6 separate regions of the Homo sapiens genome follow, and all the other regions are linked to region 6. The links are contacts of gene promoters, found by promoter capture Hi-C in blood cells and fetal thymus (Javierre and others, 2016). All regions are on one chromosome and are shown on one strand. The core of a region is centred on a gene start or on the middle of the fragment in contact, and the rest is flanking DNA. Distances in the headings are between cores, read along the strand shown. Region 1 overlaps LOC105375567 (a long non-coding RNA gene). Region 2 overlaps LOC105375567 (a long non-coding RNA gene). Region 3 overlaps LOC105375566 (a long non-coding RNA gene). Region 4 has its middle 36 kb from the start of AOC1. Region 5 has its middle 54 kb from the start of AOC1. Region 6 holds the start of GIMAP8 (GTPase, IMAP family member 8).

Region 1 (4,029 bases), core at 1,410-3,909, 420 kb before region 6:
CTCTTCTCTGGGTGGTCCCCAGTCAATGACTGAGCCGAGTGGCAGTTCAAAGTCTGGACCATCTCTACCCCCTACAGGATTCCTTCCTCAGGCCATCTTAGTTCTGGCCTCTTTTCCTTTTCTTTCCCAGGTGTTAGCTCCACAATAAATCTAACTCCATTTCAGCATCTCAGTGTCTGCTTCCTTGAGAACCCAACAAGTACAGCATGTTTCTTGGTACTTCATGGTGTACATTCAGTCCATTTGACTCATCCATTCCTCCAAGGATGGATACTGAATTTGCCTCCAACTCCCACTGCCATGACAAATGCTATGACGAACATCCTTGTTCTCATCCCTTCATAGTCCTGGGGGAGAATTTCTTTCAATTAGGTATAATTTGTAGTGGGCTTTCTGAGTCATAGGATGTATGTATGTTCAATTTCACCAAGTACATGCAGGCTATGTTACAGAGAGGCTTCATCAGTCCACATTTCCAAAGGCACAAAACCCACCTTAGACCCATGTTTGTGTTTCTGAAAGCCCTGCTTATATTTGGCACTAGATAATTTTCTAATTTTGATAATCTCTTGATATATTTGTTATTAATTTGTTTTTTCTATGAATTACTTGCTTCTATACTTTGCCATTTATAGAATGGGTTTCTGACTTTTACTTACAGATTTGCAGAAGTTTCCTATATATTCTAATTATGAATTCTTTGTCAGTTTGAGATGTTGAAAGTATCTTCTCCCTCTCAACTTTGACTATGGATTCCTTTGTTGAATAGAAACCTGTAATATTAATGAAATCAAATCTACATATTTTTTTACCTTGTGGTTTATGATTTTTAGGTCTTGTTTAAGAAAATTTCCACCTTTAGGTCACAAATATTTTCCTACATTTTTAGTTTCACTGTTTATGTATAGATTCTTACTCTTGCTGAAGTTCATTGTATATTATATCAGGTAAGGATGCAGTTTTATTTTTCTCCATATTATGGGAGCTTTTCCCCACTATAACCTACTAAACAGTCAGTTTTTTCCTGTTTCTTCGTAATTCCCTTATATTCATGAGTCTCTGAGCTCTTTTTGGTTCTGTTGGTCTGTTGGTCTACTCTTGAGCCAATACCATGATTAAAAAAATTTCCATGGCTTTATAGTGTAACTTAATATTTGATGGGACCAGTCTCACTTCTTTGTCCTTCTTTCTGAAAAATGATTTCACCATTTGTGAACCCATTTTTCATATGTTTTAGAATAAATTCATTAACCCCTAAAAAATTCTGGTTGGGATTTTGATTGGGATTGGAATTATAAAAAACATTTGAGGAGGATGGATATCTTTACAATGTTAAGCCATACTATCAAAGAGCACGGTTTTTTTATTTATTTATTCATATATTTCATTACATTATGGTCTCAGAACATGGTCTGTATGCTTTCAATTCTTTAGAATTTGAGACTTCTTTTAAAATCATTATTTGGTCAGTTTATGTGAATGTTATATGTACACAATATACACATGCATTCTTTGGTTTGTGGAGGGTTATATACAAATATGAGTTTATTAAATGTCTTATTTAGATAATCTATGTCTTTGCTTTTTTTGTCTACTTGATCTATCAGTTCTGAGATTTATGTACTAAAATCAGCAATGTTGTTGGTTTTCTTCTTCTTGCTTGAGATTATGTTGTTAGATGCATATATGTTATGCATGTTGTATCTTCTTTGTCTATTGTTTCTTTCATCAAGATATACTATACCTCTTTCAAGCTGATACAGAAGTAGAGAGAAGGATATAATGAACCCTCTCAAATCCATCATCCAGCTTCAACTACTCATGGCTACTCTTATTTTATCCATACTACACAAACTCTTCCACACCCCTTCTACTGGATTATTTTGAGGTAATGGCAAACATAATATCATTTAAAAAGTAAATACACTAGCATCTATCTATAAAAGATAAGGAATTCTTTTTAAGCATAATCATAATACCCTATCAAACCTAAAGAATTAACAATAATTTCTTAATACCATCAAATATCCAGTGTTCTAATTTTCCAATTGTCTTATAAATATTTCTATTCTCTTTACTTAAATTAGGATCCTAATGAGATTCATACCTTAGAATTAGCTGATATGCTTCTTGAGTTTCTTTTCATCTATAGATATAACATATCTCTATCTCTTTTGATATTTCCTGGCTATGAATTCTATTTTGTTATATATTAGGATGGCTACATTTTTGTAATTAAATTTTTTAAAGATTACAAAAACAATATATGAGTAAATGTTCATAAAACATTAAAACACATATGGAAGTGTGTTTTTTGTTTATATAAATAGAATTCTACAATGTTTATTATTCTGTGACTTGCCTTTATCACTTAACAGCAAATACTGAAACATATCCTTTTTAAAATATCACAGCTTTATTGATATACAATTCACATACTATACAATTTATAGATTTATTAAATCTATTGTCACAACCAATTTTAGAATGTTTTCATTACCTCTAAAAGAAACTCTATATCCAATTCTCCCCAATCCTCCCAGACCATGGCAACCACTAATCTACTTTCTGCCTCTATGGATTTGTATATTATGAACACTTCAAATAAGTAGAATCATATACTACATGGTCTTTTGCATTTGTCTTCTTTCATTTAGCTAATGTTTTCAAGGTACATCCATGTTGTAGCATGTATCAATATTTCATTTTTCCTTATTGCAGAATGATATTCCATTGTATGGATATATGACATTTTGTTTATTTAATCATCAGTTATTGGATATTTGTTTTGTTTCAACTTTTTGACTATTATAAATAATGCTGCTATAAACATTCATGTACAACTTTTTGTATGGACACATTTTCATATTTCTTGGACACATACCTGGGGTGAAATTTCTGTATTCTATAGTAGTCTGTCTAACCTTTTGAAGAACTGCCAGACTGTTTTCCAAAGTAGCTGCACTATTTTATATTCCCACCAGCAATGTATGAAGTTTATAATTTCACCACATCCTCACCAACACTTGTTGTTATCTGTCTTTCTGATTACAGCCATCCTGGTGGGGATGAAGTGGTATCCCATTGTGGTTTTGATTTGCATTTCCCTTATGACTAATGATGTTGAGCAACTTTTCATGTGATATTGGTTACTATGTATCTTCCTTGGAGAAATGTCTGTTCAGATCCTTTGCCCATTTTTAAATTGGGTTACCCATATCAGATATATGATTTGCAAGTATTTTCTCCCATTCTGTGGGTTGTCTTTTCATTTTCTTAATGATATCCTTTGAAGCACAAAGGTTTCTACATTTTGATGAAGTTTATTTTATCATTTTTTTCTTTTGTTGCTTGGGCATTTGATGTTATATCTCAGAAATCATTGCCTAAAATTGGCAAGGTCGTGAAGATTTATGCTTACATTTTATTCTAAGAGTTTTAGCTGTTACATTTAGGTCTTTGATTCATTTTGAGATAATTTTTATATATGATAAATACTAGGGTTCCGGTTTCATTCTTTTACATGTGTATATCCAGTTGTCCCAGCACTGTTTGTTGAAAGTCTATTTTGCTATTGAATTGTTTTGGTAATCTCATCAAAAGTCAACTCTATATGTGAGGTTTTATTTAATTAATGTATTTATTCTGAGACAGGGTCTCACTCTGTCACCCAGGCTGCAGTGCAGTGGTGTGATCATGGCTCCACTGCAGCCTTGAACTTCTGGGCTCAAGCCATTCTCTGCCTCAGCCTCCCAAGCAGTTGAGACTATAGGTGTGCACAACCATGCCTGGCTAATTAAAAAAAACCTTTTTATTTTTTTTTTTGAAGCGACAAGTTCTCTTTATTTTGATCAGGTTGATCTCAAACTCCTGGGCTAAGCGATCTTCCTGCTTCAGCTTCCTAAAGTGTTGGGAGGCCAAGTTGGGAGGCCAGGTTCCTAGGAGAATGGGCCCTGCAGCACACACAAGTGCATGATCATTCTGCCAGTCCCTGCCTTTCTAGGCCTGGGAAGCTGGGGACTGGAATGC
Region 2 (4,159 bases), core at 619-3,118, 390 kb before region 6:
AAGCCACCATGTGAGGCCTTCCCCCACTTTTTAACTCTTGATGTTTCCATTTATATCTTACCGTACTGTCTATGTTTTGAAAAGTTGTTATGATTTTTGATTGGTTCATATTTTGGTCTTTCTACTTAAAAGTAGTTTACACACCACAGTTACAGTGTTGTATTCTGTGTTTTTCTGTGTACTTACTAATACCCGTGAGTTTTGTATCTTTAGATAATTTCTTATTGCTCATTAACATCCTTTTCTTTCTGATTGAAGTACTCCCTTTAGCATTTTTTTGTAGGACAGGTCTGGTGTTGATGAAATTCCTCAGCTTTTGTTTGTCTGGGAAAGTATTTCTCCTTCATGTTTGAAGGATATTTTCACCAGATATATAATTCTAGAGTAAAAGTTTTTTCCTTCAGCACCTTAAATATGTCATGCCACTATCTCCTGGCTTGTAAGATTTCCACTAAAAAGTCTGCTGCCAAATGTATTGGACCTCCATTGTATGTTACTTGTTTTTTTTTTTTTTTTCTCTTGCTGCTTTTAGGATCATTTTTAAAAAAAATCCTTGCCCTTTGGGAGTGTGATTATTAAGTGCCTTGAAGTGGTCTTCTTTGGGTTCAATCTGCTTGGTGTTCTATAACCTTCTTGTACTCAGATCTTGATACTTTTCTCTAGTTTTGGGAAGTTCTCTGTTACTATCCCTTTGAATAAACTGTCTACCCCATCTCTTTCTCAACCTCCTCTTTAAGGCCAACAACTCTTAGATCTGCCCTTTTGAGGCTATTTTCTAGATCCTGTAGGTGTGCTTCATTAAAAAAAAATTTTTTTTGTCTCTTCTGGCGATATAATTTCAAATAGCCTGTCTATTCTCACTAATTCTTTCTTCTGCTTGAGCAGTTCTGCTATTAAGAGACTCTGACGCATTCTTCAGTATGTCAATTGAAATTTTCAACTCCAGAATTTCTGTTTGATTCTTTTCAATTATTTCAATCTCTGTTAAATTTTCTGACAGGATTCTGAATTCCTTCTCTGTGTTATCTTGAATTTCTTTGAGTATCTTCAAAACAGCTATTTTGAATTCTCTGTCTGAAAGGTCAGATATCTCTGTTTCTCCAGGTTGGTCCCTGGTGCCTTATTTAGTTCATTTGATGAGGTCTTGTTTTCCTGGATGGCTTTGATGCTTGTGGATGTTCGTCAGTGTTCGAGCATTAAAAAGTTAGGTATTTATTGCCATGTTTGCAGTCTGAGTTTGTTTGAGCCTGTCCTCCTTGGGAACAGTTTCCAGGTATTCAAAAGGACTTGGGTGCTATGATCTAAGCTGTATCTGCTTTAGTGGGCACCCCTAGCCCAGTAGCACCGTGGTTCTTGCACACTTGTAGAGGTATCACGTTGGTGGTCTTTGATAAGGTCCAGAAGAATTCTCCGGATTACCAAGCAGAGACTCTTTTTTCTTCCCTTACTTTCTCCCAAACAAATGGAGTCTCTCTCTCTGTGTTGAGCTGTCTGGAGCCAGGGGTAGAGTAACACAAGCACCCCTGTGGCCACCGCCACTGGGACTGTGCTGGGTCGGATATGGAGTATCAGCACAACACTGGGTCTTGCCCAAGGCCTGCTGTAACCACTACCTGGCTACTGCCTATTTGCTCAAGGCCCTAGGGCTCTACAATCAGCAAAGGTGGTGACGCCAGCCAGGCTTACATCCTTCCCTTCAGGTTGGTGAGGTCCCCTAGGTCCTGAGTGGGTCCAGGGATGCCATCTGGAGCCATGGATGGGAATCTAAAATCTTAGAAGTCTACCTGTTGTTCTATTCTACTGCAGCTGAGCTGGAACTCAAACCACAGGATGCAGTCCTTCTCATTCTTACATCCCATTCTCACAGGCAGAGGAGCCTCACCAGGCCCGTGGGGAGTACTGCCAGGCTACCACTGATGCTCAGTTAAGGACCAAAGGAACTTCAGTCAGCTTGTGGTGAATGTTGCCAGGCATAGGAACTCATCCTTCAAGACAATGGGCTCCCTTGGCCCATGGTGTGTCCAGAAATGTTGTCTGGGAGCTAGGGCCTGGAATGGGGGCCTCACAGCCTTTATCAGTGCCCTAACATACTGTGGCTGAGCTGGTATCCAAAATGCGAGACAAAATCCTCTTTACTCTTCCCTCTCCTCAAGCAGAAGGAAGGGGTCTCTTTTGGAGCTGTGTGCTGTGCTGCCTGGGGTTGGGGAAGGAGTGGTGCAAACACTTCCTTAGACACCACAGTTGGTGTCTCATGTGCCCCACCAGTTCACTAACTCCAAGCCCAGCTCAGCACTAGGTCTTGCCTAGGAATTGCAGTCCTTGTTGCGTAGACTGCTCCTCAAGTTCACTTAGGGTCCCAAAGCACTGCAGCCAATGGGGGTGAGGCTTGCTGGAACTCATGCTCTGACTGCTGGGCTGGGTGAGTACCCTCTGGCCAGGGCTGGTCCACATGTTCCCTCCGTGGTGTCAGCTGAGTATAGCTCAGTTTTGCTTTCCGCTGTGACATAGCAGCACTGAGTTCAATGCAAAGCCTCACAGTCATGGCATTCTCCCTCTCTCAAGTGTATATACAGATTCTCTGTGCCATGTAGCCACTGCCAGGGGATGGGGGAAGGGTGGCATCAGCAACTCAAGACTGTCCTTCTCACCCTCCTCAGTGCCTCTCTCAGGAATTTGAAGTCAAAACCAGGCACTGTGAGTGCTCACCTGATTTTTGGTTCCTATGAAAGTGCTCCTTTTGAGTAGATAGTTGTCAAACTTGGTGTTCTTGTGTAGGGGTGGGGATGTTTGGTGGAGTCCTTTATTCTGCCATCTTGCCCTGCCCCTAGGGTAAAGAAGTTAATTTTTTGGCCGGGTGCCGTGGCTCACGCCTGTAATCCCAGCACTTTGGGAGGCCGAGGCAGGCAGATCACGAGGTCATGAGATCGAGACCATCCTGGCTAACACGGTGAAACCCCGTCTCTACTAAAAATACAAAAAAAAATTAGCCAAGTGTGGTGGCGGGCGCCTGTAGTCCCACCTACTTGGGAGGCTGAGGCAGGAGAATGGCATGAACCCGGGAGGCAGAGCTTGCAGTGAGCAGAGATTGCGCCACTGCACTCCAGCCTGGGCGACAGAGCAAGACTCTGTCTCAAAAAAAAAAAAAAAAAAAAAGTTAATTTTTTAAACCTCACTCAGTTTTCTCATTTGTGAAACAGGCACAATAATGGATATGAAGGTGTGACAAAATTGTTGGCATCAGATGAGGTAAAAGGTATGTAAAGCACCTAACTAATGTTTTTGACACATAGAAATCACTCAATAAATGTTAGCTATGATGATGATGATCATGGTTAGCTATGATGATGATGATGGTTACAGTTGGGGAGGTATGAATGCGGGTAATACAGAGGACTCCAGGGGCCCTGAGATGTGGTGAGTGTGTGTGAGGGCTCCTTGACTTTTCCCCTTCCCCTGCTCCATAAGATCAGAGAGTTGATTTAGTTCATGTCTGTCTTGTTTAGTTCACGTCTGTCTTGTTTAGTTCACGTCTGTCTTGTTTAGTTCACATCTGTCTTAGTAACAAGCCAGTTTCCCTAAAGGCTTTTCATTCACCCCCCTCTCTTTTCAAAACTCTTATTTTTCTTTCTAAGTGTTATTTTCCCTCTGCATGTGAGTAAGTTGTTGGCCATCTCAGGAATCAAAACTTCCAGAACCAGCTGGCTTTGTAACCAGCCCGGGGCTTGGACCTGCTCACTCACCAAGGTGGTATCTTCCAGCCACCTTTACTGATGAGGTGGCCCTGTCAATCTGTAATTTATCACAGATACCACTGGTAAGAAATTAACCCAAAAGCATAATGAACCTAGGAAGTCGAAGCCGAAGTGAGCTGTGATTGCGCCACTGCACTCCAGCCTGGGCAACAGAGCGAGACCCTGTCTCAAAACAACAACCACCACCACCACCACCACCACAACAACAACAAACAAAGACTGCACAATTTCCTTCAAGATATAGCAATTGGCTCCTTGTCAGTATCTAACTGGTTTTGAAGTTCTTCCTGTTCTAATTCCTAAATAGCTCTGGATTTCTTTCCAGCCTCACGGTCTTTGCTATCATTGTCTACATCAAGGATTTTTAACCTTGGCACCATTGATAGTTTGAGCCTGATCATGCTCAC
Region 3 (3,966 bases), core at 1,261-3,760, 320 kb before region 6:
CTGAGGCAAAAGAATCACTTGAATCTGGGAGGCGGAGGTTGCAGTGAACCAAGATCATGCCACTACACTCCAGCCTGGGTGACAGAGTGAGATTCTTTCTCAAAAAAAAGAACATGTGATGTTTGTCTTTTTGTGCCTGGCTTGTCTCATTTAAGGTGAATATATATATATATAATATATGTATATGTATATATGTGTATATATAAAATCTTATGGTATATATATGTTATACATACACATGTGTGTATGTATAACATACATATATATACACACACACATATATAAAACATTTTCTTTATCTACTCATCAGTTAATGGGCCCTTAGGTTTGTTTAATATCTTTGCAGTTATGAATTGTGCTGCAATAAACATATATGTGAAAGTGTCTTTTTGATATAATGACTCCTTTTCCTTTGGGTAGATACCCAGTAGTGGGATTGCTAGATTGAATGGTAGATCTACTTTTAGTTCTTTCAGAAATTTCCACATTGTTTTCCATAGAGATTATACGAATTTCCCTTTTTACCACATCCATGCCAACATCTATTGTTTCTTTTCCCCCAACTTTTATTTTAGGATTAGGGGTATGTGTGCAGGTTTGTTGTACAGGTAAATTGTGTGTCATGGGGATTTGGTGTACCGATTATTTTATCACCTATGCAATTAGCATAGTACTCAATAGGTAGTTCTTTGATCCTCACCCTCTTCCCACCCTTCTCCCTCAAGTAGGCCCCAGAGTCTCTTGTTCCCTTCTTTGTGTTCATGTGTGCTCAGTGTTTAGCTCCCACTTGTAAGTGAGAACATGTGGTATTTGGTTTTCTGTTCCCGTGTTAGTTTGCTTAGGATAATGGGCTGAAGCTCCATCCATGTTGCCACAAGGCATGATCTCATTTTTATGACTGCATAGTATTCCATATACAGGTATATATGTAGCAATTTTCTTTATTCAGTCTACCATTGATGGCCATCTAGGTAGATCCCAGGTCTTTGCTATCACAGATATTGCTGCGATGAACGTATGCATGTGTGCGTCTTTATGGTAGGATGATTTATATTCCTTTGGGTATATACTCAGTAATGGGATTGCTGGTTCAAATTGTAGTTCTAAGTTCTTTGAGAAATCACCAAACTGCTTTCCACAGTGGCTGAGCTAATTTACATTTCCATCAGCAGTGTATAAGCATTCCCTTTTCTTAACAACCTCAAGCATCTGTTACTTTTTGATTTTTTTTTTTTTTTTTTTTTTTTGGTGAGATGGAGTCTCCCACTGTCACCCGGAGTGGAGTGCAGTGGCGCGATCTTGGCTCACTGCAACCTTCGCCTCCCAGGTTCAAACGATTCTCCTGCCTCAGCCTCCCAAGTAGCTGGGATTATAGGCATCTGCCACCATGCCCAGCTGATTTTTTGTATTTTTAGTAGAGATGGGGTTTCACTATGTTGGCCAGGCTGGTCTCAAACTCCTGACCTCATGATCTACCCCCCTCGGCCTCCCAAACTTTTTGACTTTTAATGATAGCCATTCTGACTGGTGTGAGATGGTATCTCATTGTGGGTTTGATTTGCATTTCTCTAATGATTAGTAATGTTCATTTTTTCATAAGCTTGTTGGCCATGTATATGACTTCTTTTGAGAAGTGTCTGTTCATGTCCTTTGCCCATTTTTAAAAGGGTTTTTGCTTGTTAATTTGTTTAAGTTCCTTATAGGTTCTGGTTATTAGACCTTTGTTGGACACATAGTTTGCAAATATTTTCTCTCATTCTGTAGGTTGTTTGTTTACTGTGTTGGTAGTTTCTTTTGCTGTGCAGAGGCTCTTTAGTTTAATTAGGTCCCATTTGTCAATTTTTGTTTTTGTTGCAATTGCTTTTGTTATCTTTGTCATGAAATCTTTGGCAGGGCCTATGTCTAGAATGGTATTCCCTAGGTTTTCTTTTAGGATTTTGTAGTTTTGGTTTTACATTTAAGTCTTCAATCCACCTTGAGTTGATTTTTGTATATGGTGAAATGAAGAGGTCCGGTTTCAATCTTCTGCATATGGGTAGCCAGTTATCCCAGCACCATTTATTGACTAGGATGTCTTTTCCCCATTACTTGTTTCTGTTGACTTTGTTGAAGATCAGATGGTTGTAGGTGTGTGGCTTTATTTCTGGGCTCTCTATTCTGTTCCATTGGTCTATATGTCTGTTTCTGTACCACACCGTGCTGTTTTTTGTTACTGTAGCTCTCTAGGAAAGTTTGAAGTCAGGTAATGTAATGCCTCCAGCTTTGTTCTTTTTGCTTAGGATTGCTTTGACTATTTGGGCTCTTTCTTGGATCCATATGAATTTTAGAATTGTTTCTTCTAATTCTTTAAAAAGGTAATTTGTAGTGTGATAGGAATAGCATTGAATCTGTAAATTGATTTGGGCAGTATGGCCATTTTAACAATATTGATTCTTCCTATCTATGAGCATGAAATGTTTTTTCATCTGTTTGTGTCATCTCTAAATTCTTTGAGCATTGTTTTGTAATTCTCATTGTAGAGATCTTTCGCCTCACTGGGGTTGAGAATTACAAAACTCTCCTTGGTTAGGGAGGTGAAAGATATTTTACTGAAAGAGATTTGAAAATGCCTAGGTATTTTATTTTTTTCTGTGTGCGTGGCTATTACGAATGGGCTTGCATTCTTGATTTGACTCTCAGCTTGGACGTTGTTTGTGTATAGAAATGCTACTAATTTTTGTACATTGAGTTTTTATCCTGAAACTTTCTTAAAGTTGTTTGTCTTGAATCTGTAAGAGCTTTTGGGCAGAGACTATGAGGTTTTCTACATATAAAATCATATTGTCTGAAAACAGAGATAGTTTGACTTCCTCTCTTCCTATTTGAATGCTTTTTATTTCTTTCTCTTGCCTGATTGCTCTGGCTAGTACTTCCAGTACCATATTGAATAGGAGTGGTGAGAGTGGTCATCCTTGTCTTATTCCAGTTTTCAGTGGGAGAGAGAGGGAGAATTCAGAGGGAGAGAGAGACAGAGTGGGAGAGAGAGAATCATATTTAAAGTGTACGATTTAATAAGTTTTGACACATATCCATTGGCCCCCCCCAAAATATCCTCATGACCCTTGTCAGTCCTTCCTCCTGACACTTCTCACCCCCATCCCCGGGCAGCCACTGACTTGCTTTTTGTCACTATAGAATAGTGAGCATTTTCTAGAGTAAGTGGAATCACACCATATATACTATATGTACTCCTTTTGTTTGACTTTTTCCACTGAGCATAATAATTTTGAGGTTCACCCATGTTGTGTGAATCAGTAGCTCATATCTTTTTATTGAGAAGTCATATTCCATTGTATAGATATGCTACAGTTAGTTTATCCATTCACCTGTTGATAGATATTTTGTTTATTCCCAACTTTTGCCTATTGCAGATAAAGCTTTATGAATGATCAGGTATAAGACATTTATGAACACATGATTTCTTTTCTCTTAGGAATATACCTAGGAGTGGAATGCCTGAGTCATATTATGGGTGTGTAAGATTACTTTTTAAGAAACTGGCCAATTGTTTTCTAAAGTCATTGCACCACTTTTTTTTTTTTTTTGAGATGCAGTTTTGCTCTTGTTGCCCAGGCTGGAGTGTACTGGTGTGATCTCAGCTCACTGCAACCTCCGCCTCCTGGGTTCAAGCAATTCTCCTGCCTCAGTCTCCTGAGAAACTGGGATTATAGGCGCCTGCCACCACACCTGGCTAATTTTTTTTTTTTGTATTTTTAGTGGAGACAGCATTTCGCCATGTTGGCCAGGCTGGTCTTGAACTCCTGGCCTCAGGTGATCTGCCTGTCTTGGCCTCCCAAAGTGCTGGGATTACAGGCGTGAGCCACTGAGCCCGGCCAATTGCACCATTTTATATACCACCAGTCCCTCCACATCTTCACCAACACTCAGTGTGTTCAGTGTATTTAATTTTAGCCATTCTAATAATCC
Region 4 (3,938 bases), core at 1,301-3,800, 440 kb before region 6:
GGCAATTACTCCCAATTTCCCCCCAAGTCCCCTCAGCCCTAAGCAATCACGAACCTACAGAAAGTAGTAAAAAGGTGGTACCATTTTACATTCTCACCAGCATGTATGAAGGTTTCAATTTCTCTACTTCTCTACATTCTTTTTTTTTTTTTTTTTTGAGATGGAGTTTCACTCTTATTGCTCTGGCTGGAGTGCAATGGCACGATCTCGGCTCACTGCAACCTCCGCTTCCCGGGTTCAAGCGATTCTCCTGCCTCAGCCTCCTGTGTAGCTGGGATTACAGGCATGCACCACCACGCATAGCTAATTTTGTATTTTTAGTAGAGACGGGATTTCACCATGTTGGTCATGGCTGGTCTTGAACTCCTGACCTCAGTTGATCTGCCCGCCTCGGCCTCCCAAAGTGCTGGGATTACAGGCACGAGCCCCTGCGCATGGCCTAATTTCTCTACATTCTTAACAACACTTGTTATTGTCTTATCTTTTTCATTATAGCCTTCCTAGTAATGGGAAATGGCATTGCTCTGTGGTTTTGGTTTGCATTTCTCTAATGACTGGTCATGTTGAGCATCTTTTCATGTGCTTATTGGCAATTTGTTTATCTTCTTTGGAGAAATGTCTATTCAAATGCTTTGCCCATCTTTAATTGGGTTGTCTTTTTATTATTGAGGTGTGTGTGTGTGTGTGTGTGTGTGTGTGTGTATGGTGGACACTAGACTCTTACCAGGTATATAAATTTATAAATATTTGCTGCCATTCTTGTTGTTGTCCTTTCACTTTCTTGATAATGTCCTTTGAAGTGCAAACATTTTTAATGTTGATGAAGTCAAATGTATCTATTTTTTCTTTAGTTGCTTGTATTTTTGGTGTAATAGTGAAGAAATCATACCCTAATTCTAGGTATTTCAATATTTTTTATTTTTATCTTTTAAGAGACAGGGTCTCACTCTGCTACCCAAGCTGGAGTGCAGTGGCATAATTACAGTCCACTGCAGCCTCGAACTCCTGAATTAAGTTATTCTCCCACCTCAGCTTCCCGAATAGCTGGGACTACAGACATGTGCCTCTATGCCTGGATTTAAAAAATATTTTTTAGAGAGGGGGCTCACTATGTTGCCCAGGCTGGTCTCAAACTCCTGGGCTCAAGTGATCATACTGCCTTGGCCTCCCAAAGTGCTGGGATTACAGGCGTGAGCCACTATGCCCAGCCTACAGTTTATATCTTGATCTTGCATTCTGCAAATAGAGATAGTTTACTTCTTCCTTTCCAATCTGAAAGCCCTTATTTAATTTTCTTCCCTAATTTCCCTGAATAGGACCTCTGGGACAATGTTGAATAGAAGTGATAAAAGTAGATATTTTTATCTTATTTCTGATCTTAGCAGGAAAGCATTCAGTCTTTCCTCATTAAGTATGATCTCAGCTGTGTGTGTGTGTGTGTGTGTGTGTGTGTGTGTGTGTGAATTTTTTTGGTGGATTCCCTTTATCAGGTTGATGAAGGTTTCTTCTATTCCTAGTTTGTTCAGTGTTTTCATCATGACAGGGTATTGAATTTACTTAATGTTTTACTGAATCCATTGAAATGATCATGTGGGTTTTGTCCTTTATTCTACTGATATGATGTATTAAATTAGTTGAACTTTGGATGTTAAACCAACTTTGCATTCCTAGGATAAATCCCAGCTAGTCCGGGTGTGTAATCCTTTTTATATACTGCTGAATTTTGTTTGCTGGTATTTTGTTGAGGATTTTTGTACCTATATTAATAAGATCTCTCTCTCTATATATAACATTTATATCTATTATAAAATATAATACATATATTTTATAGAGACAGGGTCTCACTCTGCCACCCAGGGTGGAGTGCAATGGTGCAATCATAGCTCACTGCAGCTTCAAACTCCTGGCCTCAAGTGATCCTCCTCGGCCTCCCAAAGTGCTGGGATATAGGCATGAGCCACTGTGACTGGCCTCATAAGAGATATTGATGTGTAGTTTTCATTTCTTGTGATGTCTTTGTCTGGTTTTGGTGTAGGATAATACTGGCCCCATAGAATAAGTTGAGAAATACTCTCTTCTCTTTTATTTTTTGGAAGTGTTTGTAAAAGATTGATCTTAATTCTACTTTAGAATTTGGTAGAATTCACCATTTGAAGCCATCTGGATCTGGGCCTTCCTTTGTGGGAAATTTAACATGACTAATTCATTCTCTTTACTTGTTATAGGTCCATTCAGATTTTCTGTTTCTTCTTGAGTCACCTTCAGTAGTTGTGTCTGTTGGGAACAGGCCCCCCAAAATCTGGCCATAAGCTGGCCCCAAAACTGGCCATAAACAAAATGTCTGCAGCACTGTGACATGTTCATGATAGCCATAATGCCCACGCTGGAAGGTTGTGGGTTTACCAGAATGAGGGCAAGGTACACCTGGCCCACCCAGGGCAGAAAACCGCTTAAAGGCATTCTTAAACCACAAACAATAGCATGAGAGATCTGGGCCTTAGGGACATGCTCCTGCTGCAGATAACAAGCCAGACCCATCCCTTCCTTTCCCATAAGGGATACCTTTAGTTAATCCCGTTTCCCATAAGGAATACTTTTAGTTAATCTAATATCTATAGAAACAAAGCTAATGACTGGCTTGCTGTTAATCAATACGTGGGTAAACTCTGTTTGGGGTTCTCAGCTCTGAAGGCTATGAGATCCCTGATTTCCCACTTCATACCTCTATGTTTTTGTGTGTGTGTCTTTAATTCTTCTAGTACCACTGGGTTAGGGTCTCCCCGACCGAGCTGGTCTTGGCAGTGTCTTTCTAGAAATATGTTCATTTCTTCTAAGTTGTCTAATTTGCTGGCATAGAGTATCGTTTTATAATCATTTTTATTTCTGAAAAGTTGGTGCATTAGTTGCTAGGACCTCCATAACAAAGTATCACAGATTGGGTGGCTTAAACAATAGAAATTTATTTTCTGGCCAGGTGCAGTGGTTCACGCCTGTAATCCTAGCACTTTGGGAGGCTGAGGTGGGCAGATCACTTGAGGTCAGGAGTTTGAGACCAGCCTGGCCAACATGGTGAAATCCTGTCTCTACTCAAAAAAAAAAAAACAAAAAAAAACCCAAAAATTAGCTGGGTGTGGTGGCACATGCCTGTAATCCCAGCTACTTGGGAGGCTGAGGCAGGGGAATTGCTTGAACCTGGTGTCAGGCCTCTGAGCCCAAGCTAAGCCATCATATCCCCAGTGACCTGCACGTATACATCCAGATGGCCTGAAGCAAATGAAGATCCACAAAAGTGAAAATAGCCTTAACTGATGACATTCCACCATTGTGATTTGTTTCTGCCCCACCGTAATTGATCAATGTACTTTGTAATCTCCCCCACCCTTAAGAAGGTTCTTTATAATCTCCCCCACCCTTAAGAAGTTTCTTTGTAATTGTCCCCACCCTTGAGAATGTACTTTGTGAGATCCATCCCTGCCCCTAAAACATTGCTCTTAACTCCACCTCCTATCCCAAAACCTATAAGAACCAATGATAATCCCACCACCCTTTGCTGACTGTCTTTTCAGACTCAGCCCGCCTGCACCCAGGTGAAATAAACAGCCTTGTTACTCACACAAAGCCTGTTTGGTGGTCTCTTCACACTGACGCATGAGACACCTGGGAGGCGGAGGTTGGAGTGAGCTGAGATCACGCCACAGCACTCCAACCTGGGTGACAGAGCAAGACTCTGTCTCAACTAAAAAAAAAAGAAAGAAATGTATTTTCTCATGATTCTGGAGTCTAGAAGTCTAAGATTAAGTCCTTGGAAATTAATTTCTTCTCAGGCCTCTCTCCTTGGCTTGTAGATGACCATCTCCTCTCTGTGAACTTCACGCTGTGCATTGTCTATGTCTTAATCTTTTTTTTTTTAATAAGGACACCAATTATTTTGGATTAGG
Region 5 (3,900 bases), core at 369-2,868, 460 kb before region 6:
CCTGGGCTCCAGTGATCCTCCCAGACTCTCCAGTAGTTGGGACCACAGGCATGTGCCACCATGCCCAGCTAATTTTTGTATTTTTGGTAGAGACGGGGTTTTGCAGTGTTGCCCAGGTTGTCTCAAACTCCTGAGCTCAAGCAATCCAACCACCTTGGCCCCCCAAAGTGCTGGGATTATAGGTGTGAACAACTGCACCTGGCCTTGTCTACGGTATCCCTTAAATAGAAATTCTTTTTGCCCCTGAATGGTCATAATAAGTTAACTTTTACCTATGGTGGGTCCTCCAGAGTGCTGAGTTGTATCAATTAGATTTTTTAAAAAATAAATTTGATTGTGTATATTTAAGGCATACAACATGATGTTACGAGATCCATGTAGATAGTAAAATAATTACTATAGTGAAGTAAAGTAACATATCCATCATCTTATATTAGCACTTTTTTTTTGGTAAGAGTAGTTACAATATACTCATTTAGCAAAAATTCCCAATGTGATACACTATTAGTAACCAAAGTCCTCATGTCTGGATCTTTAGATTTGTCCATCCTACATATCTGCTATTCTGTGTACTTTGACTCACATCTTCCCATTTCTTTCTCCCACCTTACTCCTGGTAACCACTGTTTTATTCTCTATCTCTGTGTATTTGCCTTTCTTTCTTTTTTTCTTTTTTAAGATTCCACATATAAGTTTGATCCACTATATTTGTCTTTCTGTATCTGGCTTATTTCAGTTAGCATAATGTCCTCCAGCTCTGTCTACATTGTGTCAAATGGCAGGATCTCCTTTATAAAGCCTAATTAATATTCCACTGTGTATACATACCATAGTTTCTTTATCCATTTGTCCACTGACAGACATCTAGGCTGTTTCTGTATCTTGGCTATTGTGAATAATGCTGCAATGAACTTGGGAGTGCAGATATCTTTATGAGGTGGTGATCTCATTTTCTTTGGGTATATGGCCAGTAATGGGATTGCTGGATTATAAGGTAATTTTATTTTTAATTTTTTTGAGGAGCTTCTATATTGTTTACTATAATGGCTAAACGAGCTTATATTCTCACCAGTAGTGTACAAGGAAGGTTCCCTTTTCTCCACACCAACACCAACACTTGTAATCTCTAGTCTTTTTGGTAATGGTCACCTTGACAGATGTGAGGTGGTATCTCATAGTGGTTTTGATTTGCATTTACCTGATCATTAGTGATGTCGGGCATCTTTCATATATCTGCTGGCCATTTCTATGTCTTCTTTGGAGAAATGTTTATTCAGGTTCTTTGCCCATTTTTAAAGTGGATTGTTTGTTGTTTTTGCTGTTGAGTTGTATGCGTTTTTAAAAGGCATTTTCGATATTAACTCCCTATTAGATACATGGTTTACAAATATTTTTCTCTGATTTGTTGGTTGCCTTTTTTTTTGTTGTCGATTGTTTGCTTTGCTGTGCAGAAGCTTTTTAGTTTGATGCGGTCCCATTGATTTATTTTTGCTTTTGTAGCCTGAGTTTTGGTGTGGTATCCAAAAAGTCATTGCCAGGGCCAATGTCGAAAACTTTTTCCCGCTTGTTTTCTTCTAGGAGTTTTATGGTTTCAGGTCTTACCTTTAAGATCTTTTATCCATTTTGAGTTGATTTTTGTGTATGGTGTAAGACAAGAGTCCAGTTTCATTCTTTTGCATTTGGAAATCCAGTTTTGAATATAAATTCTTAATTTTTATATAGGGAAAACATCAAGTTTTGCCTTATAGTTTGTGCTTTTTAGGTCTTTCTTATGAAAGCTTCCCTGAATCCAACCCCAGGTATCAAATACATGATTGTAATTTTTTCTATTGCCTTTATAGTTACATCTTTCACATTGAGATCTTTAATTCACCTGGAGCCCACCTCTGCATATGGGTGTGGTGGGAATCCAACACCCTCCACCCCCTATTAAGGAGCTAGTTTTCTCAGCAATCATTTGCTACACATGTTCTTCTTTCTACACTGACTTGTGGTGGCTTCTCTGCCATAAACCAAGTTCTTGTACACACGTGGGTCTATATCCAAGTTCTCTATTTTGGTTTATGATGCCAGCACTTTACCTTCTTATTACTATGATTTTTGGGTTATCTTCCTTCTGGTGAGATACATTCTTCTTGGCTCATCTGGGATCTGTGGAAGGGTGAGTAAAAGCAAATCTTTCTGTCCTTTTCTTCGGAGTCCCTAAGCTCCACAATAGTCAAAATGAAAGAAAAATACCGGGCCTCTGACAGCCAGTTAAAAGCGAACAGTGCGGCTGCCGGACTTAAGGCATGGAGGATGGCCAGAAGATGAAGAGGGCAGAGAGATGATGGGACAGGACGACCAGCTGCAGAGAGGAGTACCCTCTACGCTGAGAGCTGCAGAGAGGAGTACCCTCTCTGCTGAGAGCTGCAGAGATGACCAGTGTGCAGAGAGGAGCTACCCTGTCTGCTGAGAGTTTCAGAGACCTGCAGAGACCTCCGAATGACTTGCCTGCAGACAGGAGCCACCCTCTCCAGGCCTCCTCTGCTGAGAGAGGAACACTCAACGGAGGACCTGCCTATAGAAAGGAGCTACCCACTCCTCTGAGCTGTTCTAACACTAAATAAAACTCTTCTTCTTTACCCATCACTTGTCTGTGTACCTCATTCTTCCTGGACACAGGACAAGAACTCGGGCAAAGGCGCCGTGGCCACAGAGGTTTCCAGTCAGAAAAGTCGACACCCCAGAGATCCTGTAACATCTTTAAAAAAATTATGGTAGTAATTTGGGAACTTTTATTCTTCCTTATAAATTTTAGAATAAATGTATTGCATTCCTAAAAAAGGACAGTTGGAGTTTGATTAGGACGACAATTGTGGTAATAATTGGGTAGAATTGATACTTTAATATTAAGTTGTCCAATCCAACAACACAGATTATTCTGTTTATTTAGATCCACTTTTATCTCCTTTATTAGAGGGTAAAAATTTCCTTTACAGAGGACTAGTATATTTTTTTTCAGGCATTTTATAGGTTGTGTTGCTGTTATGAAAGGTATCCTATTTTCTTATATGTATATATGTCTTATTTTCTCCTATATATTATAGGTGGTTAATGTGGTATAGACAAAGTGTTATTGGTCTTTGTAAGTTGACTTTACATCCATCCAGCAACCCTGTTATTAGTTTTAATAATTAGTTGAAATTTCTATGTAAATTTTCATATAGTCCACAAATAACATTTTAATCTCTTTCCTCCTTCCGACTTCTACACCTCCCATTTCCTTTTCTTGTTTTATAACAGTGGCCCTGACTCTGGCTCTTTGTTACATAGCAGCAATGCTAACAGGCACCTTATCTTCTTGCCAATCTAGATGGGGATGTTTCTAAGGTTTCTCCATTGGATGTGATATTTGCTTGGGGTTTTGGTATGCCGTCTTTAAAAGTTGAGGTGATTCTATTCAAATTCTAGTTTTCTGAATTACTCTTTGGCTCTTTGCCATGAAGGGCTGCCTGTCCCTCATGCCCTTGGCCCACAGAGCACAGCCAGGCTTCCGCCATGCCACCACAGGCAACTCCATGACTTACAAGCTGGTGGCTTACAAACAGGATGTCACTCCTCCTGGGAAGCATCCTCCACCACTGTCCTGGAGGGACATAGCTCAGCCCAGGTGGAGGAGAGTGGTGATGCCCTCCTGTGACACACAGACACCTCATGCACACCTGTGACCTGTGGTACACAGGCAGGAGGGGTCATGGAGAGAAATGACATTGGCTGTGAAACAAGGTGATTTGGCCTCAAAGTTGGGACCTGCCATGTACTAGCTGTGTGACTGTGAACAATTTATTCAACCACTCTAAACCTCAGCTTCCACATTTGTGAAATGGGGAATCTAACTGTTCTTGGGGAAACCACGTG
Region 6 (4,547 bases), core at 629-3,128:
GTGAGAAAACAGCAAGCTGAAGGAAGCAGAGGCCTCCCACAGGTCTGAAGAAGAAAGAAATTTCTTTCCCAATTAAGCGACACAGCCTTGCATGGTTCCCCAGCAGAGTATGACCAAACCAATGAGTCTTGGCTGGACTCCTGCCTGCAGCTCCACATGATGTCAGGACCTACACACACACACCCACATACACACACGCACATGCACACTCCTACCACACATACAGCTTCCCAGCCAGTAGCACTTCACCCCAACATGTAGAAAGTGCACTTAAGGACAAAAAGGTACCCAAACTCACCCTCACTCACGCTCTGCCAGCCCACATTTCCCTCTGCTCAATTTCCCAGGCCACTCTGGAGACCCCAGCAGAGCAACTGAGAGAAAAAGAGAGCGTTCTTCCTATAATTCACTGAAGACTGTAAAGGCAGCCTCTGCCTCCTTCTCAGGAAACAGCCCAAGGCAAACGTGGACTCAGGCATCTGAGCACAGCATCCAGCCATGCGGGGATTCATCCCACATCTAATCGCAGTTCCCACTTACAGAGCAGGGTGGTTGGAGATGCCTCCAGAGCCCAGCGTGGGGAAGACCTTAGACCCAGCCCAGCAGGGCAACCATCAAGAGGAAGGGAAGAGGTTAACTGCTGAGGACCAGGTTGGCTGAAATGTAGGTGAAATCAGAAATATTGCTTTTGGTAAGGTCTTGACCCCTCCAATCCCTCCAATGCCCAGTTCACAGAATCCTAACTGTGCAAGGGGCAGGAAAGATCAGAAAAGCAGACGTGGAAAAATCAGCATCCCCCACCCCCTGCTTTGCGGGAGGAGCTCCGCTGGCTTCCTCCTGGGGGCTGCTCTGCGGCACCATCTAGCTTCATGGGGCATCTGACCGGCTGCTTCCGCCTGCTTCTTCCTCCCTTCTGCCAGTCTCAGCCCTCCTCCTCTTCAGGGCTCACACCCACTCCCCGACACGCCTTCTTTTAGGACAGCCACTCTCATAGATGTCTGGGAATATGCCTCTGTCCCCATCCTGCCGAATCTACTCCCCAGCAGGCTGGGGAGACACGCTTTGGACCAGGAGGAAAGCTTCCCAGGGCCCCTGCCATTCAACTCTGCCATTCAACCCTGCCATTCAACCCAGCCTCCTCTCCCATGGCTGAGCAGGCTGCCTTCCCGGTGCCAAGCCCATCCTCCCCCACAGCCATGCACCAGTGCACACACATCTACACACGAGTGCACATGTCACACATGCACTGCGGTCGTGTCCCATGGGGTCCCACGGCGTCCCACAGTCTCCGAGGCTCCGCAATCCACCTGGCTCTATCCCTCCATCTCTCACCTGGGTGGAAGCAGCTGCTGGTCCCCCAGGGCACAGGATGTGAGGAAGGTGAGGAGGGTGAGGGGAGAATGGCCGGAGAGCGACCCTCTTCCCAGGCCCTGGTCTTCCTGGCAGGAGGGTTTCGGGTGTTTCTGCAAAGGAAGAGATTTCTAGAAATAGCCTTCACATCCACAGAGGCATAAATGCAGTCGGAGAGGAAGTTCCCTGTGCAGGCCACAGGCTCAGAACCTCGAGAGCCGTCGGGGCTCAGGGAGGAGCCAGCATCGGGGACACACGCGCCTTCCCTGGGTGCTGAGCGCCTCGTGGGGTCACAACACAGCAGAAACTGAGGAGCCCGGCCCGTCCCGCAGCTGCAGACTGAGAGGAGGGAGGAGAAATGACAGCAGAGGCTTGGCCAGGGGCTGGGGCGCCGGGGCCGGTGCCAGGCTGAGCTTCAGAAGGGCTGCAAGAACAGGGGCTTGGATAGGGCAGGAAAAGGACGTCAAGCCAGTTCCTGTTCCTGAGAGGACAGAGATTGTGGCGCCGCTACAAGCTCTGAGCAAAGCCAGCTCCGGGCCTCTGTGTGCCCTTAAGTGGCCTTTAGGACTTCCTCTCACAAGTCCTTCCTCGCTTCCCTTCCCTTCCCTAAAACCCACAACCCGGGGAACTCCAAGCCTGACAGACCAACGCTGCTTCTCAGGGAATGAATGCTTTTCCCCAGCTTGCAAAACGTGAAATGCTAGACTTCGATGCTTTCAAATATTTCACAAAATGAAATCCCTTTTGTGAAAGAACATAGTGTCCAAACTACCTGGTCTCTACTTCATAAGGAAGTCAAACACGGAGGAAGACTTCTTAAAAAATGTTTACTAGGGTAAAAATGATGTAACATTAATAGTACCATCCTAACCATTTCTAAGTGTATAGCCCACAGTAGAAAGTACATTCACATGGTTGTGTGCCAGATCTGCAGGACTTTTCATCCTGCAGCACCCAAACTCTCCCCATTACACCCCAACTCACCTCCCCGAACCCCAGCCCGGGTAACCACCGTTCTACTTTCCGTTTCTATGATTTTTTTTTTTTTTTTGAGACAGAGTCTTGCTCTGTCGCCCAGGCTGGAGTGCAATGGTGTGATCTCGGCTCACTGCAACCTCCACCTCCCGAGTTCAAGCAATTCTCCTGCCCCAGCCTCCCGAGTAGCTGGGATTACAGGTTCCCGCCACCACACACGGCTAATATTTGTATTTTTAGTAGAAACGGGGTTTCACCATGTTGGCCAGGCTGGTCTTGAACTCCTGACCTCAAGTGATCCACCTGCCTCAGCCTCCCAAAGCGCTGGGATTACAGGTGTGAGCCACCACACCCGGCCTGTTTCTATGATTTTTGGCAACGTCAGATACTCATGTGAGTGGAGTCCCACAGTGTCTGCCCTCCTGAGACTGAGCAGAATGCCCTAGAGGTTCATCCAAGTGAGTGCGGGACCCTCTGCGCTCTGCACAGCAGGGCCCTCTTCACAGGATGCAGAGGCTAGGGCCTCGAGGGACTGGAGCTCAAGTTAGTTTTCCAAATGTCTGAGGTGGTGCTAAGCTTTCCAAAGGGACCCCGCAGAAGGAGGAGCAGTGGGGGTGGCTGAAGTAGAGGGGCATGCTTCAGATATGAAGTCTCTACAGTAGTCAAAACCACAGGCTTTGGGGAGCTGCTGTCAGCCTATCACATCCCGAGGGATCCACCCTCCCCCTGGACTGGTCTTCATGCGCCAGCCTTGAGGACTGCTCTACCTTGTTATGAACCTGAGGGAAACCCTGGTTATGCTGGGATGGCTCAAGAAGAGCTTTGGGGACACACAGGACACATCTTGATGGGGAAAGCTGACAAAGCCCTTCCCATGTCCCACTCTACCTGTCTCCTCATTGAAAGAGGATCTATTTTGGAAGAACCCCACCCTTCCTTTACAGTAGGTCAACGCACATAAAACCAACTCATTATAATGAAAAGACAAAAACCCGAAGCCAGGTACTGCAGTTCATCCCCGCTGGGGTACTAACAGAGGCAGAGGCTCAGCAAGAAACTGTTTCCCCAAAATAGAGAAGAAAAGGCTCACTCATTCTTAAATGAAATATTAAGCATCCAGGGATTGCTCTAAGTAAAACTGAAGCTGCAAATAACTCCTCAAAGATTCAGCAAGTCGATTATTTGCTGAGTTGACCATTTTGCAAAATGATCTTTCAGCAAATCAGCTCCTAGAGAATTGATTTCCGTGCAGAAGGCAGGCTGCCGGGTTCTGGTTTGGCACCGATCTGAGGCAGGATGGGGGCTCCCTGCCCCCTAGTGGCTTTGTGGCTAATGACAAGTGCAGCAAAATGCTCCCCAGCGGGCCGAGAGCCCTGACTCAGCAGGCAGGTGAAACACTGGGGAGAAGTTCTAGACTTCCAGAAATCGAATAAGCCAGGAAGACACATGTTATGCAAGCAAGGAGAAATCTACCAGGACCAAGCACCGTATTAGACACAGAGGGCACAAAGATTAGCAAGGCAAATACCTGACTCAAAGGGGCCCTAACTCAGTCTGAGGATGGGGAAGAGACTACGCTGTGGTCACGAAACGAGGTAATGTGCTGTGATAGAGATGCGTCCAGGCTGCCACGCAAGTGAGGAGGAGACGATGTAAACCCCGCAAGATGGAAAAACAACCAATTGGGGAAATAAACTTATAAACAAATCCGTAAACCCGCCATTTCCTGTGGCAGGTACTGACGGAGTGGTAGAGACGGAGTTTCACTATGTCCTGCCATGGAGAAGATTGTAAGGCACAGTGAAGGGAAGGCCGCGCGGGAAAGGTAATGCCTAAGTCTTGAAGGGCTGTAACATTTGCCTGTCAGATGACGGAGGGAGGACGCCTCAGGCAGACGGAGAATGGCAAACGCCACCGGCATCGGGGCCCTAAGACAGCCCAGCAGGTGCGAGAAAACGCAGTCAGGCTGGAGACAGAAGGACCGGTCAGAGGCTGCTGCAGCACCCAAGCTAGAAATGAGGAGAACTAACGCAGAGACAGCAGCAAGGGGAACAGATTTATTACAAATAGAAACAATAAGGCCGGGCCTGGTGGCTCATGCCTGTAATCCCAGCACTTCCTGGGAGGCCGAGGCCGGCGGCTCAACTGAGGTCAGGAATTCGAGACCACCCTGACCAACATGGTCAAACCCCGTCTCTACTAAAAATACAAAAAAATTAGCT

Evidence for each region. Contacts are between HindIII fragments. The CHiCAGO score rates a contact against its expected background, and 5 or more counts as called.
Region 1: a fragment that was not itself captured here is called in contact with the fragment with the promoter of GIMAP8 in region 6 in 4 of 17 cell types (M2 macrophages, M1 macrophages, naive CD4 T cells and 1 more); the score reaches 10.0 in M2 macrophages.
Region 2: a contact is called between a fragment that was not itself captured here and the fragment with the promoter of GIMAP8 in region 6, in 1 of 17 cell types (monocytes). The highest score is 5.3, in monocytes.
Region 3: a fragment that was not itself captured here is called in contact with the fragment with the promoter of GIMAP8 in region 6 in 17 of 17 cell types (activated CD4 T cells, M1 macrophages, M0 macrophages and 14 more); the score reaches 28.3 in activated CD4 T cells.
Region 4: a fragment that was not itself captured here is called in contact with the fragment with the promoter of GIMAP8 in region 6 in 1 of 17 cell types (M2 macrophages); the score reaches 5.3 in M2 macrophages.
Region 5: a fragment that was not itself captured here is called in contact with the fragment with the promoter of GIMAP8 in region 6 in 1 of 17 cell types (M1 macrophages); the score reaches 5.2 in M1 macrophages.

Annotation. Positions count from the first base shown.
Region 1 is chr7:150,870,834-150,874,862 of GRCh38, reverse strand. All of the region lies in intron 1 of LOC105375567 (a long non-coding RNA gene), which reads left to right. Among named protein-coding and RNA genes, the nearest start is that of AOC1, 20 kb to the right of the region's middle. The HindIII fragment of the contact is 8,356 bases long and covers 1-4,029 here.
Region 2 is chr7:150,840,484-150,844,642 of GRCh38, reverse strand. LOC105375567 (a long non-coding RNA gene) reads left to right here. Exons shown (of 5, transcript XR_928171.3): 2 at 3,198-3,253. Among named protein-coding and RNA genes, the nearest start is that of AOC1, 10 kb to the left of the region's middle. The HindIII fragment of the contact is 8,468 bases long and covers 1-4,159 here.
Region 3 is chr7:150,772,007-150,775,972 of GRCh38, reverse strand. All of the region lies in intron 2 of LOC105375566 (a long non-coding RNA gene), which reads left to right. Among named protein-coding and RNA genes, the nearest start is that of TMEM176B, 26 kb to the left of the region's middle. The HindIII fragment of the contact is 1,816 bases long and covers 1,603-3,418 here.
Region 4 is chr7:150,886,961-150,890,898 of GRCh38, reverse strand. No RefSeq gene overlaps it. Among named protein-coding and RNA genes, the nearest start is that of AOC1, 36 kb to the right of the region's middle. The HindIII fragment of the contact is 8,329 bases long and covers 1-3,938 here.
Region 5 is chr7:150,904,160-150,908,059 of GRCh38, reverse strand. No RefSeq gene overlaps it. Among named protein-coding and RNA genes, the nearest start is that of AOC1, 54 kb to the right of the region's middle. The HindIII fragment of the contact is 324 bases long and covers 1,457-1,780 here.
Region 6 is chr7:150,447,961-150,452,507 of GRCh38, reverse strand. It overlaps GIMAP8 (GTPase, IMAP family member 8), which reads right to left and starts at 1,878. Exons shown (of 5, transcript NM_175571.4): 1 at 1,333-1,878. LINC00996 (long intergenic non-protein coding RNA 996) reads right to left here. Exons shown (of 4, transcript NR_034033.1): 4 at 4,368-4,547. The HindIII fragment of the contact is 1,822 bases long and covers 1,082-2,903 here.